Regions from separate parts of the Homo sapiens genome. Here region 1 is linked to region 2. Evidence: promoter capture Hi-C in human tissues and cell types (Jung and others, 2019). All regions are on one chromosome and are shown on one strand. Each heading gives the region's core, a stretch centred on a gene start or on the middle of the fragment in contact. The rest is flanking DNA. Distances are from core to core; before and after follow the strand shown. Region 1 has its middle 250 kb from the start of LINC00973. Region 2 holds the start of COL8A1 (collagen type VIII alpha 1 chain).

Evidence for each region. The method cuts DNA at HindIII sites, captures the fragments that hold promoters and counts their contacts. A contact is called where the count stands out against the background at its distance.
Region 1: a contact is called between a fragment that was not itself captured here and the fragment with the promoter of COL8A1 in region 2, in 1 of the 25 tissues and cell types used here (aorta).

The regions. Positions count from the first base shown.
Region 1 is chr3:99,160,119-99,167,639 of GRCh38, forward strand. No RefSeq gene overlaps it. Among named protein-coding and RNA genes, the nearest start is that of LINC00973, 250 kb to the left of the region's middle. The HindIII fragment of the contact is 3,333 bases long and covers 4,043-7,375 here.
Region 2 is chr3:99,637,041-99,644,092 of GRCh38, forward strand. COL8A1 (collagen type VIII alpha 1 chain) reads left to right here and starts at 1,554. Exons shown (of 4, transcript NM_020351.4): 1 at 1,554-1,624. It overlaps LOC124909401 (a long non-coding RNA gene), which reads right to left and starts at 1,640. Exons shown (of 2, transcript XR_007095981.1): 1 at 1,547-1,640; 2 at 328-894. The HindIII fragment of the contact is 6,546 bases long and covers 1-3,408 here.

The DNA.
Region 1 (7,521 bases), core at 4,459-6,958, 470 kb before region 2:
TAGCAATACTGCACCCCTGGTACCAATTTTCTGTATTAGCCCGTTCTTGCATTGCTAAAGAAATATTTGAGACTGGATAGTTTATAAAGAAAAGAGCTTTAACTGGCTCATGGTTCCACAGGCTGTACAGGAAGCGTAATGCTGGGCATATGCACAGCTTCTGGGGAGGCCTCAAGAAACTTAAAATAATGAAAGAAGATAAAGGGGAAGCAGGATTGTCTTACATGGCCAGGCCAGGATTGTCTTACGTGGCTAGAAAAAGTATCACACATTTTTCAACAACCAGATATCATGAGAACTCACTACCACAATGAGAACACCAAAGGGGAATAGTGTTAAGCCATGAAAAACTGCCCCCATGATCCAATCACCTCTCACCAGGCCTCACTTCCAACATTGATGATCACAATTGAACGTGAGATTTGGGTGGGGACACAGATCAAAACCATAAAAAAAATAAATTCAGTAAAATATAAAAAAGTTAATATATTACAACTAAGAATTATCCTAGGAATGCATGTTTATTTTTAACATTCAAAAATCAGTCAATATACTTCACCACGTTAACAGAATAAAGAAAAATCATATGGTCATATGAATAAATACAGAAAAATCATCTGACAATTTTTGACACCTATTTATGATAAAGATAAAAACTTTAGGCAAACTAGAAAGGATTCTACCACATGATAAAGAGCATCTAAGAAAAATGTACACCCAATATAATACTTAATGTTAAAATGTTGAGTGATATCTGCTCTCAACCCTTCTTAATATTTTACAGAAGGTACTATTCAATGTGATTAGGCAAGACAAGGAAACAATTTGTATAATGATCAGGGGGAAAAAGAGAAGTGAATTTTTATTTGCAGAAGCATTATTATCTACACAGAAAATACAAAGGATTTTATAAAAAAGAAACTGCTATATCTAATAAATGAATTCATCAGTTTCTCAAGGTAAATAGGCAAAAAAAATCATATTTCTACATACCAGCAACAAAAAATTAAAAATAAAATTCAAAAATTGATGTCATTTATAACACCAAAAATTATAAAACCTCAGAATAATTTTTTAAAAAGAGAGAAAAGATCTTTATACTTGAAAGCCACGAACACATTGCTGCAATAAGTTTTAAAATATCTGTATAAATGGAGATATGTACCATGTTCATTAGATGGAAAGTAATATTTTTAAAATTTTGATTTTCTCTCACTTGATCTATAGATTGAAAGATCATTGCAACTCCAGTGCAAATTCCAGCAGGCTTGGCTATTTTAGATAATAATTGATTATCTTATAGTACAATGTATATGGAAATACAAAGGACCTAGAATAGCTAAAAACCATCTTAAGAATGAACAAAGCCAGAGAGCCCACACTCTTAATTTTAAGACTTCCATAATGCTACAGTAATTAATGCAATGTGTAATTGACAGAAGGATACACTAACAGAGCAATAAAACAGAATCATGAGTCTAGAAATAGCTCTACACATTTTGGTCAAATAATCTGTTACAAATGTGTCATGGAAATTCAATGGGAAAAGAAAGCATTTTTAACAGTCCTGGGTCAATATTATGTCAATATGGAAAGAAAACAGAATCATGACTCAATATCATACCATACATTAAAATATCCATATAGTTTATAAACCTAAATGTAAATACTAAAACTATAAAGTTTTAAGAAAAATATGGAATATCTTTGTGACTTTGCATAAGTAGTAGGCTAAATAGTGCCCTACTAAAATATATGTTCACATCTCAACCCCTGGAGCCTGTGAGTAAAACCTTACATGAAAATGATTAACTTAGGAATCTTAAATGGTGAAGCTTATTCTGGATTATACAAGTGAGACAAAGATGCACTCAGATCCATCCTTATAAGAGAGAAACAGAGGAGTTTTGAGTCAGAAAAAAAGGAGGCAACGTGAACACAGATAGAAAGACTTGAATGATGCAGCCAAACCAAGACATTTCTAGCCACCCAAAGCTGAAGGAGGCAAGAAGCAGTGTCCTCTAGAGACTTTGGGGGAACGATAGTTCTGATAATACTTTGATATCCAACTTCTGGCTTGCAGAACTGTTAAAGAATAAATGTCTCTTGTTTTAAGCCACTATTTATAGTAATTTGTTATAGTAGCCACAGAAAACTGACAGAAGGTAGACAAAGATTTCTTAACAAATTCAAAAAGCAGCAACAAAATCAGAAAACAAATGTAGAAATGACATAAAAATAAAAAGCATTTGTTCTTCTTCAAAAACACCATTTAAAAATGAAGCCAAAGAGTGAGAAAAAATATTTTTATCACATATATTCAATAAGGCTTGACTCTAGAATAAAGAACTCTGATAAATCAATAATAAAAAGACAAGCAACCTAATTAAAATACTGAGAGAAGAAAGCAGGCAGATCAAGGTGGTTAAACAGGACCCTCCAGAGATTGTGCCTCCCACAGGAACAATAAATTGAGCAACTAACCATGCAGGAACACCTTCATAAGAACCACAACTTAGGTGAGCAATCACAGTACCTGGTTTTAGTATCATATGAAGGAAGGAGACACTGAAGAGGGTAGAGGGTAGGAAGATAGTCTTGAATTCCCTACACCACTTGTTTCCCCATTTTCCAGCAGTACTACATGACACAGAGAATCTATGTGCTTAGAGGATGGAGAGCAAAGTGATTGTGAGACTTCCCATTGGACCTCAGTGCTGCCCTGTAACAGTGGAAAGAAACACAGGGCAGAATTCAGCTAGTGCCAACAAAGAGAGCCTTTAGACCAACCCTAGCCAGTGGGGTCTCATCCATCCTAGCAGTGGGAGACTGAGCTCTAGCTAGCCCACTACCATAAGCTACAGTACTCTGGGGTCCTAAATAAATCTGAAAGGCAGTCGAGACGACAAGAGTGGCAATTCTTGGGCAAGTCCTGGGGTTGTGCTGGGCTTGGGGCCAGTGAATTTAGGGTGCAGTGGCTTAGTGAGGCATCAGATAAGGAGGCCAAGGGGGTGCTCATGTAACCACTACTCCAACTTCAGGCAGTGCATCTTGCAGCTCTGGCAGAGAGTCCTTCCACTCAAGGAAAGGAGAGGAATGAGTAAAGAGGACTTTGTCTTGCAACTTGGGTATCAGCTCAGCCACAGTAGAATACAGCACCAAGCAGAGTCCTGAAGCCCTTATTCTGGGCTGTAGCTCTCGGATGAAATTTCTGGACCTACCCTGGGCCAGGAGGAAACCTGCTACCCTGAAGGGAAGGACCCAGTCCTGACAATATTCACCACCTGCTGACTAAAGAGCTGCTGGGCTTGAATAAACATCAATGGTAGTCAGGCAGTAATTTCCATGGGCCTTGGGCGAGTCCCAGTGTCATGCTGGCTTCAGGTGTGACCCAGCACACTCCAAGCAGTGGTGGCCATAGGAGTGCTTGCATCACCCCGCCCCAGCTCCAGGCAGCTCAGCCCTCAGGGAGAAACTGCATTTGTTTGAGGGAAAGTAAGGGAAGAGAACAAGAGACTGTGGCTGGTAATCCAGGGAGTTCTCACAGATCTTACCCAAGTTCACCAAAGTGGCACATCTATAAAACTACAAAAGTCACAGCAACACTGGGCTTTATTATCTCCCAATGCAGATAGAGCTTCAGCGACCAAAGATTTAGACCACAACATTCAATTCCCTTGGAATACATAAAAAGCCCTTCTTAAGAAGGACAGATACAAACAAGCCCAGACTGAGAGTATTAGAATTAATACCTAACACTTCAATGCCCAGAAATCAACAAACATCCACAAGACCAAGACCATTTATAAAAACATGATTTCACCAAATGAACTGAATAAAGCACCAGCGATCCATCCTGGAGGAACAGAGATATGTGACTTTTCAAACAGAATTCAAAATAGACTTTCAGACAGATAAGTCAAAACAGCTATTTTGAGGAAGCTCAATGAAATTGAAGATAACACAGAGAAGGAATTCAGAATCCTATCAGACAAATTTGATGAAAAGATTGAAATAATTTTAAAGAATCAAGCAGGAATTCTGGAGCTAAAGAATTCAAATAACACACTGAAAAATGTATTACAGTCTCTCAACAGCAGAATTAATCAAGCAGAAGAAAGAATTAGTGAGCTTGAAGACAGACTATTTGAAAATACACAGTCAAAAATGACAAAAGAAAAATAATAATAATGAATAAAGCACATCTACAAGATCTAGGAAATATCCTCAAAAAGGCAAACCTAAGAATTATTGCCTGAAAGCGGACAGAGAGAGAGAGAGAGAGATTATCTAAAGATATAATATCAGAGAACTTTCCAAACCTAGAGAAATAATCAATATTCAAATACAAGAAGATTTATAGAACTCCAAAGATTTAACCCAAGTAAGACTACCTCAAGATATTTAATAATCAAACTCCCAAAGTCAATAATAAATTCCAAAAAGCAGCAAGAGAAAAAAAAAAGCATGTGAAACAGTTCCAATACATTGACAGCAGACTTCTCAGTGGAAAACTTACAGGCCAGTATAGAGTGGCATGGCATATTTGAAGTTACAAAGAAAAAGAAAACTTTTATCATAGCATATTATATCCGGCAAATATATACTCCAAACATGAAGGTCAATAAAGACTTTTCTAGACTAACGAAAGGTGAGAAATTTTGCCAACACTAGACCCGTCCAACAAAAAAATGCTAAAGAGAGTTCTTCAATCTGAAAGAAAAATGTGTTAATGAGCTATAAGAAATTATTTGGATGTACAAAACTCACTGGTAATAGTAAATATACAGAAAAATACAGAATGCTATGACACTGTAATTTCTGTGTGCTCATATCTTGAGTAGGAAGACTAAAAGATGAATAATAACTACAACAACTTTTTAAGACATAGTATAATAAGACATAAATGCAAACAACAAAAATTTTAAAACGTTGGGGGATAAAATTAAAGGGCAGAGTTTTATTAGTTTTCTCTTTGCTTGTTTGTTTTCTTTAATTTTTGGAATCTGTTAAGTTTTCATCAGTTTAAAATAATGAGTTACAAGATAATATTTGCAAGTCTCATGGTAACCTCAAATCAAAAAAGCTACAATAGATCCACAAAAAATAAAAATAAAAACCAAGAACATAAAACATACCATTGCGTAAAATAATCTTCACAAAAGATAGGAAAAAATGAAGGAGGAAAGACCACAAAACAACAAGAAAAAATATATTTAAATGGCAGTACTAGTCCTTACTTATCAATAATAACATTGATTGTAAATGGACTACACTCTCCAATTAAAAGACATAGGGTAACTGAAGGGATTTTCTGCTGCCTACAAGAAACACACTTCACCTATAAAAACACACATAGACTGAAAATGAAGACATGGAAAAAGACATTCCATGTGAATGGAAACCAAACAATAGCAGGAGTAGCTATACTTATTTCAGACAAAATAGATTTCAAGACAAAAACTGTAAAAGGAGACAAAGAAGGTCCTCATATAATGATAAAGGGGTCAATTCAGCAAGATGATATAATTGTAAATATATAAACACCCAACACTGGGTCACCCAGATATATAAAGCAAGTATTAGAGCTAACAGAAACATGGATCTATATAAAATAATGGGGAGAGACTTCAATACCTCACTTTAAGCGTTGGATAGATCATCCAGACAGAAAATCACCAACGCAACACTCAACTTAATCTGCACTAGAGATCCAATGGAGCTAACAGATATTCACAGAACGTTTCATCCCACGGCAGCAGAATAAAAATTCTTCTCTTCAATACATGAAATATTCTCAAGTATGGATCATATGTTAGGTAGGCCACAAAACAAATCTTAAAAAGTTCAGAAAATGTACGTTTATCAAGTTTCTTCACTGACCACAATGGAATAATGCTAGAAATCAATTCCAAGAGGAATTTTAGAAACTATATAAACACATTGAAATTAAACAATATGCTCCTGAATGCGAGTGTGTCAATGAAGAAATTAAGAAGGAAATTAAAAATTTCTTGAAACAAATATAAACAGAAGCACAATATCAAAATTTATGGAATACAGCAAAAGCAGTACTAACAGGAGAGTGTGTAGCAATAAGCATCTTTACAAAAAAATAGCAAAACTAGCAATGCATCTTAAATAATTAGAAAAGGAAGAGGAAACCAAACCCAAAGTTAGTAAAGGAAAATAAACAATAAAGATCCAAGCAGAAATAAATGAAATTGAACCAAGAAAACAATATGAAAGCTTAATGAAACAAAGTTGAGTTTTTTGAAGAAAGAAAGAAAGCAAGCTAACAAATTCTTTTTTTATTATTATACTTTAAGTTCTGGGTTACATGTGCAGAATGCTCAGTTTTGTTACATAGGTATACACATGCCATGGTGGTTTGCTGCACCCATCAACCCATCACCTACATTAGGTATTTCTCCGAATGTTATCCCTCCCCTAGCCTCCCACCCGCTGCAGGCCCCAGTGTGTGATGTTCCCCTCCCTGTGTCCATGTGTTCTCATTGGAAAGCTACATTCTTAATCAAACTAACTAAAAAAGAGAGAAGACACAAGTAAATAAAATCAGAGATGAAAGAGGTGACATTACAACTGACACTGCAGAAATATAAAGAATCATTAGCAACTACTATGAGCAACTACAGGTCTATAAATTGGAAAAACTTAGAAGAAACTGATAAATTCCTAGAGACATAAAATCTACCAAGATTGAACCATGAGAAAATCCAAAACTTGAACAGATCAACAACAAATAATGAGATAAAACCATAATAAAAAGTTTTCCATTAAAGAAAAGCTCAAGAATCAAAGAATTCACTGCTGAATTTTGTCAAACATTTAAAGGAAAAATAACACTGATCCTACTTAAACTATTCTAAAAAATACAGAAAAAGGGAACAATTCTAAACTCATTCTATGAGGCCAGTATTGCTCTGATGCCAAAACCAAAAACACATAAAGAAAACAAAACTACAGGCCAACATCTCTGATAAACATTGATGCAAAAATCCTCAAAAATACTAGCAAACTGAATTCACCAACACATTAAAAAGATTATTCATTATGACCAAGTGGAATTTATTCCAGTGATGCAAGAATGAGTCCACATATGCAAATCAATCAGTGTGATACATCATATCAAGAGAATAAAGGACAAAAACCATATGATCATTTCAACTGATGCTGAAAAAACATTTGGTAAAATTCAACACCCCTTCTAAAAACAACCCTAAAAAAACTGGGTATAGAAGGAACATACCTCAACATAATGAAAGCCATATGTGACAGACCCACAGATTGTATCATATTGAACAGAGAAAAACTGAAAGCCTATCCTCTAATATCTGCAACAATATGGAAATGGTCACTTTCACCACTATTTTTCAACATAGGACTGGAAGTCCTACCTATACCAATCGGACAAGAGAAAGAAATAAATGACATCAAAATTGGAAAGAAAGAAGTTAAAATATCCTTCTTTACAGATTGTATAATTTTATATTTGGAAAA
Region 2 (7,052 bases), core at 304-2,803:
CGAAAGTTTCAGTAGTGCTAAGTTTGAGTAATTCTGCTCTTCACCATCAAGTTTCCTTCTCTTGGAGCCTGCTACCAGCCAATGACATCAGGATCTAACCTGAGACGAACCTAGGTGTTCTATACGGCAGCCTGGTGTACTGAAGAGTGCCTAAGGTTTGCAAGCTCGCTAGCTGTGGCTCCCCCTCTCGCTAGCTTGAGCTAGTTATTTAAACCCTTAGAGATGCCTTTCTTTAAATTAAAAAAAAAATAAATAAATCTGCACAATATGAATCATACCTACCTCATAAGGTTGCGGTGAACACTGAATGAAGTACATATATACATATTCAGTACAAGTTCGTTCCTTTATTATTTCCAGCCTACCCATCCCTCCCCCCTCCCATTCCCGCCTTTTCCCCCTCCCGGTACTGTATCTCCCACCCCAAGTCTCAGGTTCTCTTTTAAAATGCTTTAATTCCTTTGGTGGCAAAAATCAGGCTTGGGCTAGGAAGTGAGTCACCACTCAGCAGCGAAAGGAGCTTGTTTTTCTTTCTCTGAATGCATTTCTTAGTAATTTCAGACTGATCCTTTAGCCACTTGTTGGTTGAATCCTCTCTTAATGTTTAAGACACACTGAGAAAGAACTGTGGCACCAAGACGTTTTCCGATTGTTAGGAATGAGAGTGTTTTAAATACCGAAAATAACCAGAGGGCAGAGAGCTCTGAAATCCTACGTTACATAAGCAGATGCTGGAAGACCCAGGCTGGTTCTGAGGTTCCTGTCTCCACAAGCAAGTCCACGCGAATCCTCCCCGTTGCTGGATTTACTTTAATGCTGCCGAAGTCTCAAAAGGGGCCTCTGGATGCTCAGAGGACAGGCAGCGCAGGAACTTCCTTGTCAAATAAGCCTTGCCTGGAGGGAGAGGGATGGGGCGATTTTCACCCGCGGGCGGTGGGACGGGGCTGAGGGCTGGGGGCTGCCTGGCTCCAGGCCATGTCAGTGCCTCCAGCTCCAGGTCCGGGTCCACCCTGAACTTTGGCTCTGCTGCCCGGACGCCCAGCTTCACCTCCCTTGCCTCGCTTAGAAACCCTTCAGTTCTCCCGGACCGCTATGTAGCTTTTCAAATTCCCAAATTCACAGAAAACACCTTCAAAAGTCACAATCACCCACAACTCCCTCTGCCAAAAAATGTCATGCAAAAACGGAAAATACTCCGATTCCCCTTTCCTCCCAGACACTCTCTCTCTCTCTGTCTCTGCTATTCATTTTCTCCCCCACCTTTCCCCATCTGTGGTCAAGATCCCTTTCACTATTTCTAGTTCCCTCTCTTTTTTCCCTTCTCCCTCTCTCTCCCTTTTCCACTCCTTCCTCCGTTGTGACCGCGCTCCCCCTCCCCCCGCCCCGTCGTCTCTCCTCCGCCTTGCGGGCTCCAGTCTCTGCCCGCCCCTCCCCAGAGAAGAGTGTCCAGCTCCTCCAGAGGCTGCCCGCCCGCCGCTCCTTCCCTGCCCACCTACTATGAGGAGCAGCTCCTCCCACCTGCCCATAAAAGCCAAGTGCATGTTACCAGCAGCGGATCACAGCCCTTCCCCGATCCTCTCCGTGGGAGCCAGCGAGCCTCTCTCCCTGATCTTACGTGCTCAAGGTAAGACAGCACTTCTGCAGGCAGCTCACCTACCAGGGGTTGCTATGGGGGAATAAGTCACCCTCTGGCCAACGCGTTTGCTGTTTGGTTAGAGCTGATTCTTACGGATGCGCGATCCGCTGCTCCTTTAACTAGCAACTGGTTTGAAAACAAACTTCTGTTTGAATGGTAAAATAAAAGCTCCTTCAGGGAAGAAACAGCAGCATAAATATTGCGAAACCTTTCTCTTTTTAAATCACTTTTTCTCCTGTTGCTGACTGTTGCTTAGGTTAAAATGTATCTGTTTGGGGTGTTGTACTGACGTTTTTCACTGTACATATTTCACACATCAGTGGGGGCAAGGAAAACGTTGTCCCATTGTCAAAAATGTACTTTAAAAGAACACAGTTAACTTCCTAAAAATAGCACAGTCAAAAGGTCTGCTAACAATTTTGTGATGTTTTCCAAACCCCCAAGACAGCTTCTGTGAGTCCTTTAAAAAAATATCTTTCCAGGTTTTAGCGCTTGGAAAAAAATGATGTGAACGGGTGCCCTTTGCACGGGGACAGTAAGTAATCAGGTGGCTGGTAGATAGGAAGGAACAAATCCAAATTCACAAGCCAGGGTAGAATGTGCTCTCTCACCAGGCTATCTTTTCACGACATCCTAAAATGAGAATTACGATGGAACTAAGAAAGTGTATAAAAGAACTTCATGAATTTCTGTACACACACCTAAACATAAAGTGTTTCAATATGTTTCACAGTAAGAGAATAATACAGGCCAGATTATACAATACTTCTGTGCACACCAGATGGTTGTAAAGAAAGATCAGCGAGAAAGGCTTTGGAAGTTTTAATCCTTCTTTCCACCTTTTTTCCCCCGCATTTAGTAAATCACAACCTACCTGACTGGCATCCAATTATCAGAGATATTCAGTGTTTAAGCTACCCTCTTTAAAAGAAAATGATCTCTTCTTATTCCTAAGGTAGAATAAATGTGCACCTGTGAAAGGAAAAACATACTCCACAGCCACTTCTGTAAAACCAGACACTTGGTCCATGAAGTTTGCCATCAAATTCTGTGGGTTGTGTGGGATGAAACTCTCTCAAGTGGGAGAAAAACCCTCTTCAAATGTTTCCTCTGGGGAATTGCTCAAGACCACTTAGAGAAGGCAAACCAAAAGTACCAGTCAGGAAACCAAACCACTCTTTTAGCCCTTAAGGTTCTTAAAGTAAGAAGAGAAATGTTTCACTTTTTTATTTTTTTGTTTGTTTATATTATCTCATGTGGAAAGAAAAAACTCACCGAAGCTGTATGAAATTCTCCCCTATTAAAGAAACAAGACTCATTAGAAATTTAACTTAGGTCTTCCAAACCATTTCTCCTTAGCTTTTGCATATCAAAAGTAATAAAAATATTTAAAAGTTCTGCTTGAGATGGAGAGGATTCAATGCTGTTACTCAAATGCAAGAGTTATATATAAAGCTTCTGTCACGTTAAATTTTTCTTCATTGGAAAAAAATATTGCAAGAAGTGCAGTTTCCTTTAAGCAAATTATATAAAATTACTATTGGCCAAGATAGTATGTGACCTGAGCATATTAACATACCTTTTATCTCATGCCACAATGCAGACTGCTTGCTTTATATCTGATGCACATAGGTAATCAACCATGACAAGAGTACAGGTATGGGACAAGGCCAGACCAAGTATGTGGCACATTCAAGTTAATTCTTCTTTTATGGTAGTGCCTGACTCACACCCATTATCACAAGGATGAAAATACGCTGCTTCATTCACCAGATCCCCTTGAGGGAAGTTATCTTTTCTTGGGGTGGAGGGGGAAATGCTCCCAGTTTAAATGAGCTTCCAGTTATTCCTAAGTTTGGGGATAAAAGTATTCTCCAAGGGTTTACTTCTGCTTTCTCTGGCAATTAATCCACCGGACCAGCTATGGACCGTTAAACAGTAACTGCCTTCCCTATGTCCCATCAAGTTCAAGCCCCTAAATAACTGAGTGAGATCATCTTAGATTGCTCATGATCTAAGTTTCCCAGGAGCAAAGCTATCCTTTCTCCATAGGGTACATACCAAGCAAGATGACACTGCTCTTCTTAAGCTTTTAGAAAAATCAGTGTCGAAGTTTCATGTAGTCGCCCCCAAATCTCCCCTTCTGCATGGGATGTGGATACTTCACGTGAGTCTCCTCTTTTTGCCATTATATAGCTGCCTCTTGATCAAGTCCATGACTATACCCAACCAATGCCATTGAGGCAGACTTGGGAGGACTTCTTAATGTTTCTCAGAAAAGATAAGATGAGAAGCTGCCGCTTTCACTAGAGACACAAGAAGGGAGCTCTACTGATTTTGAGGGCTTGCTGATCCTACAGAAATGTGCATTTTAGATGTTCTACTACTGTCAAAATTATAAAATGATATCCTTTTCATGATCAGAAAACATATGCCACTTTATTCCTATTTATGAAATAAAAATCAAGGAGAAGAGGATTGGGGTGAAAAGGGACTTGAAAGAGAAGCTGGAGGAATCACAGAAGTGCCCTAGGAGAAAAGCAAGATTAGGAGCTCTGTTACGAAACGCAACTTCTCCCAACCCTCATTTATGTGAACATGAGGGGATGGGGAAGAGCAAAAATCCATGTCTGCTCTTGTCTTTTTATTTGTTTGTTGTTTTTTAATCAATGAGAGTATAAGATCCATCTCTACTATGCCCTTCTTCTTAGCCCTCCTTCTTTAGCAGAAAAGAACAGCTTGGTTCTAATGATGAAAATGATTTCAGGTTTGCCCCATATTTAAAAACCCACAGTAATTTGCTAGTCATAATTCTAAAAGCTATACTATGAGTTAAAATAAAAAACTCCTTAAAACATGTTTTTAACTAACAGATGGGTCACGTCAACAAAACCAACCCTAAGTCTCCTGAAAAGTGTAATGTTGAGTGCTTATTTGTAAGTTAAAAGTTAGAAACAGCAATTTACTCCTTATCCATGGTTACTCACTTTGGTATGGAAACTTGCAGACAGATTGAGACACACCGTATTTCCTAAAACCTCTGGTCCTCCAAGTAACCCTCTGGGAGCTAGGTGTTTCTGCCTTGACCTCCTTCTCTTCAACCAGACCCCTATAAACATACATGTACATAAGTTAAAGAAGGTACAGATCTTGAAACTTGAGTGTATTCTTGTGAAAGGTGCACTGGTCTAACTATTGAGTGAAAAGAAAACCAAAAGGAGAGGAGAGGAGAATTAAGGGGAGAATGAATGCCCTTTGGAATTTAGAGAATCTTTCTTTTTAGCATTGTGTGAAAAGGATATCTCAATCCCTAAAGCATCTGGGAATACACATTTATTTAAAGAACCTGTTCAAAAGTTGTCACAAAATGCTAAGAATATAATGAAGAAGATCTTCCAGTGACCTGGCAGATATTAACAGCAGGTTACACCCCACACTACTAAATTATAGCTCTATTAAACTTCCCCTTTCTAGAGAGATAAGGAGTGAGAAGTATGAGCATTAACCACATTTCAACACAAACAGAGAAAAGCTGCTAATGAGAGATCCCTCTATCACTTTAGTAACTCCATTTGTTGTTTGAGGGAGAAGGTTCTTCATAGTTTTTCCTCAAGCAGATTTGCAGGAATGGGGTTAAAGGGAGTCACACAAGGTTAGAATGTCTACAAGCCTGAAGTCGTGTGTACTCAAATTCATGAAGCCATTGAAATTGCATCAGATCAAACTGAAGTGAATAAAACAAAAAGTGTTCACCAAAACTGATCACAGAGTAATCAATAAAAATAAAAATAATGAATTCTAACTTCTCAATGTAGGATAAGAGCAAAAGCAACAACTTTAGCTGACTATGTAAAATATGAACACACACCTGACAATTCACCTTCGGTGTCCTCTATTTATTTGGGGCTCACTTCCATCGTCCCTCCTGGACAACAAAAACTGACCCTTCTCTCCTTCAGCAAACCTTTCAGGATGTGCAGATGCAGTCATAGTCCCTCTGTGACATTTCCTTTGTTCTTTCCCTGGAAAAAATCTCTTTTTAATTCTCATAGAACAAGTTTCTAAAGAACCACTCATACTTGTGGCTTCTCTCATTACCAAAAATTTCCTCATACTTCTCTTAAATAGGATATAAATTTTCACCCTATCAAATGTAAAAGCTTCACATTTTTCTAAACTTTAATTCACATACCTAGAAGAAAGTAATTTAAAATTGCTACTTGCCTCCAACAGAATATCTGAGATGAGGTTTCAAAGCCATTTTACTTATCCAGTACTTATTATAACTTCTTGGAAATTAAAAAAACTTTAGAGAATCATAAAAGATAAATGCTGGAAAAGACCTTGGAGCTAATTGTAACTAAAAGTTAATTTTACAGGTGCAAAAGATCAGAAAGATTAATGTCTTTCCCCAGGCCACCCAGATGAGTACAGCACACCCAAGGCTGGAGTTCATACAGCCAGTTTCTCCAGCCAGTGCTTAATCTTGAATAACTGCAGTGTGGCTCCTCGTATAATGTGAATCTAAGGTGTCTTTGACTATGCTGAGCATTCCGTAGGCACTTAACATACAGGGCTCTCAGAAACCATAGCTTGGTAGAGGTTTGGACTACAGCTATACCTCTACTACCAAATGTCTAGGACACGTTGACATAAATTCTTGTGAAGAGTGAAGTCAATGGTCATCACCATCACAGGGATGGTATGTTTTTAACCAGCCCAGGATATGGTACATAGTAGCTGCTCAGTAAATCTGTGTTGAGTGGGTGAATGAATGGGGAAAAAAGCTAAGTATAAAATATCCATTTTCCTAAACTCCTTTCTTACTTGTAGAAAATATAGTCTATAAAACTACTTTCTACAAAGTAATGGATTTACAAAGTAAATTTTACTTCGTAGAAAACAGTCTATACAGACATACAGTGACTCAGGTCTCAAATGTATTGAGTTTAAGATTCTCCCTTGCTTTGGGAAATCTAGAAGAGTTCATTTTAGCCTTAGCAATGGCTAAGCCGTTTTCCTGTCTGCAATATTCTCACTAGTTCTTCCCATATTTACTTGAGTTCTAGAAACTGTATTATTTTTTACAGGAGGCTTAAGATCTAGTTCCAATATTCATTTGAGAGAACAAATGAATTAGAATGTGAGATTTACAGCGTAACTCTCCTCTTCCACCCAACAGACAAAGTGTTGCCAATTTAACCATTTTGTACCTTCCTCGGCCTCTAATGAGAGAAAGAGCAAAATACCCATAATGGATAATCAGGAAAAACATTAAGGGACACATCAGTCAGAATGTGTAGGTATGAGATTTGTTGTAACAGAGGGGCAGAGGGGAGAGGTGATCAAGGGACTAAGAGTATAGAGACAAGACAGTGAAGCTAAGAGAGTTTATTCCTCTGAAACAGAGGAGGGA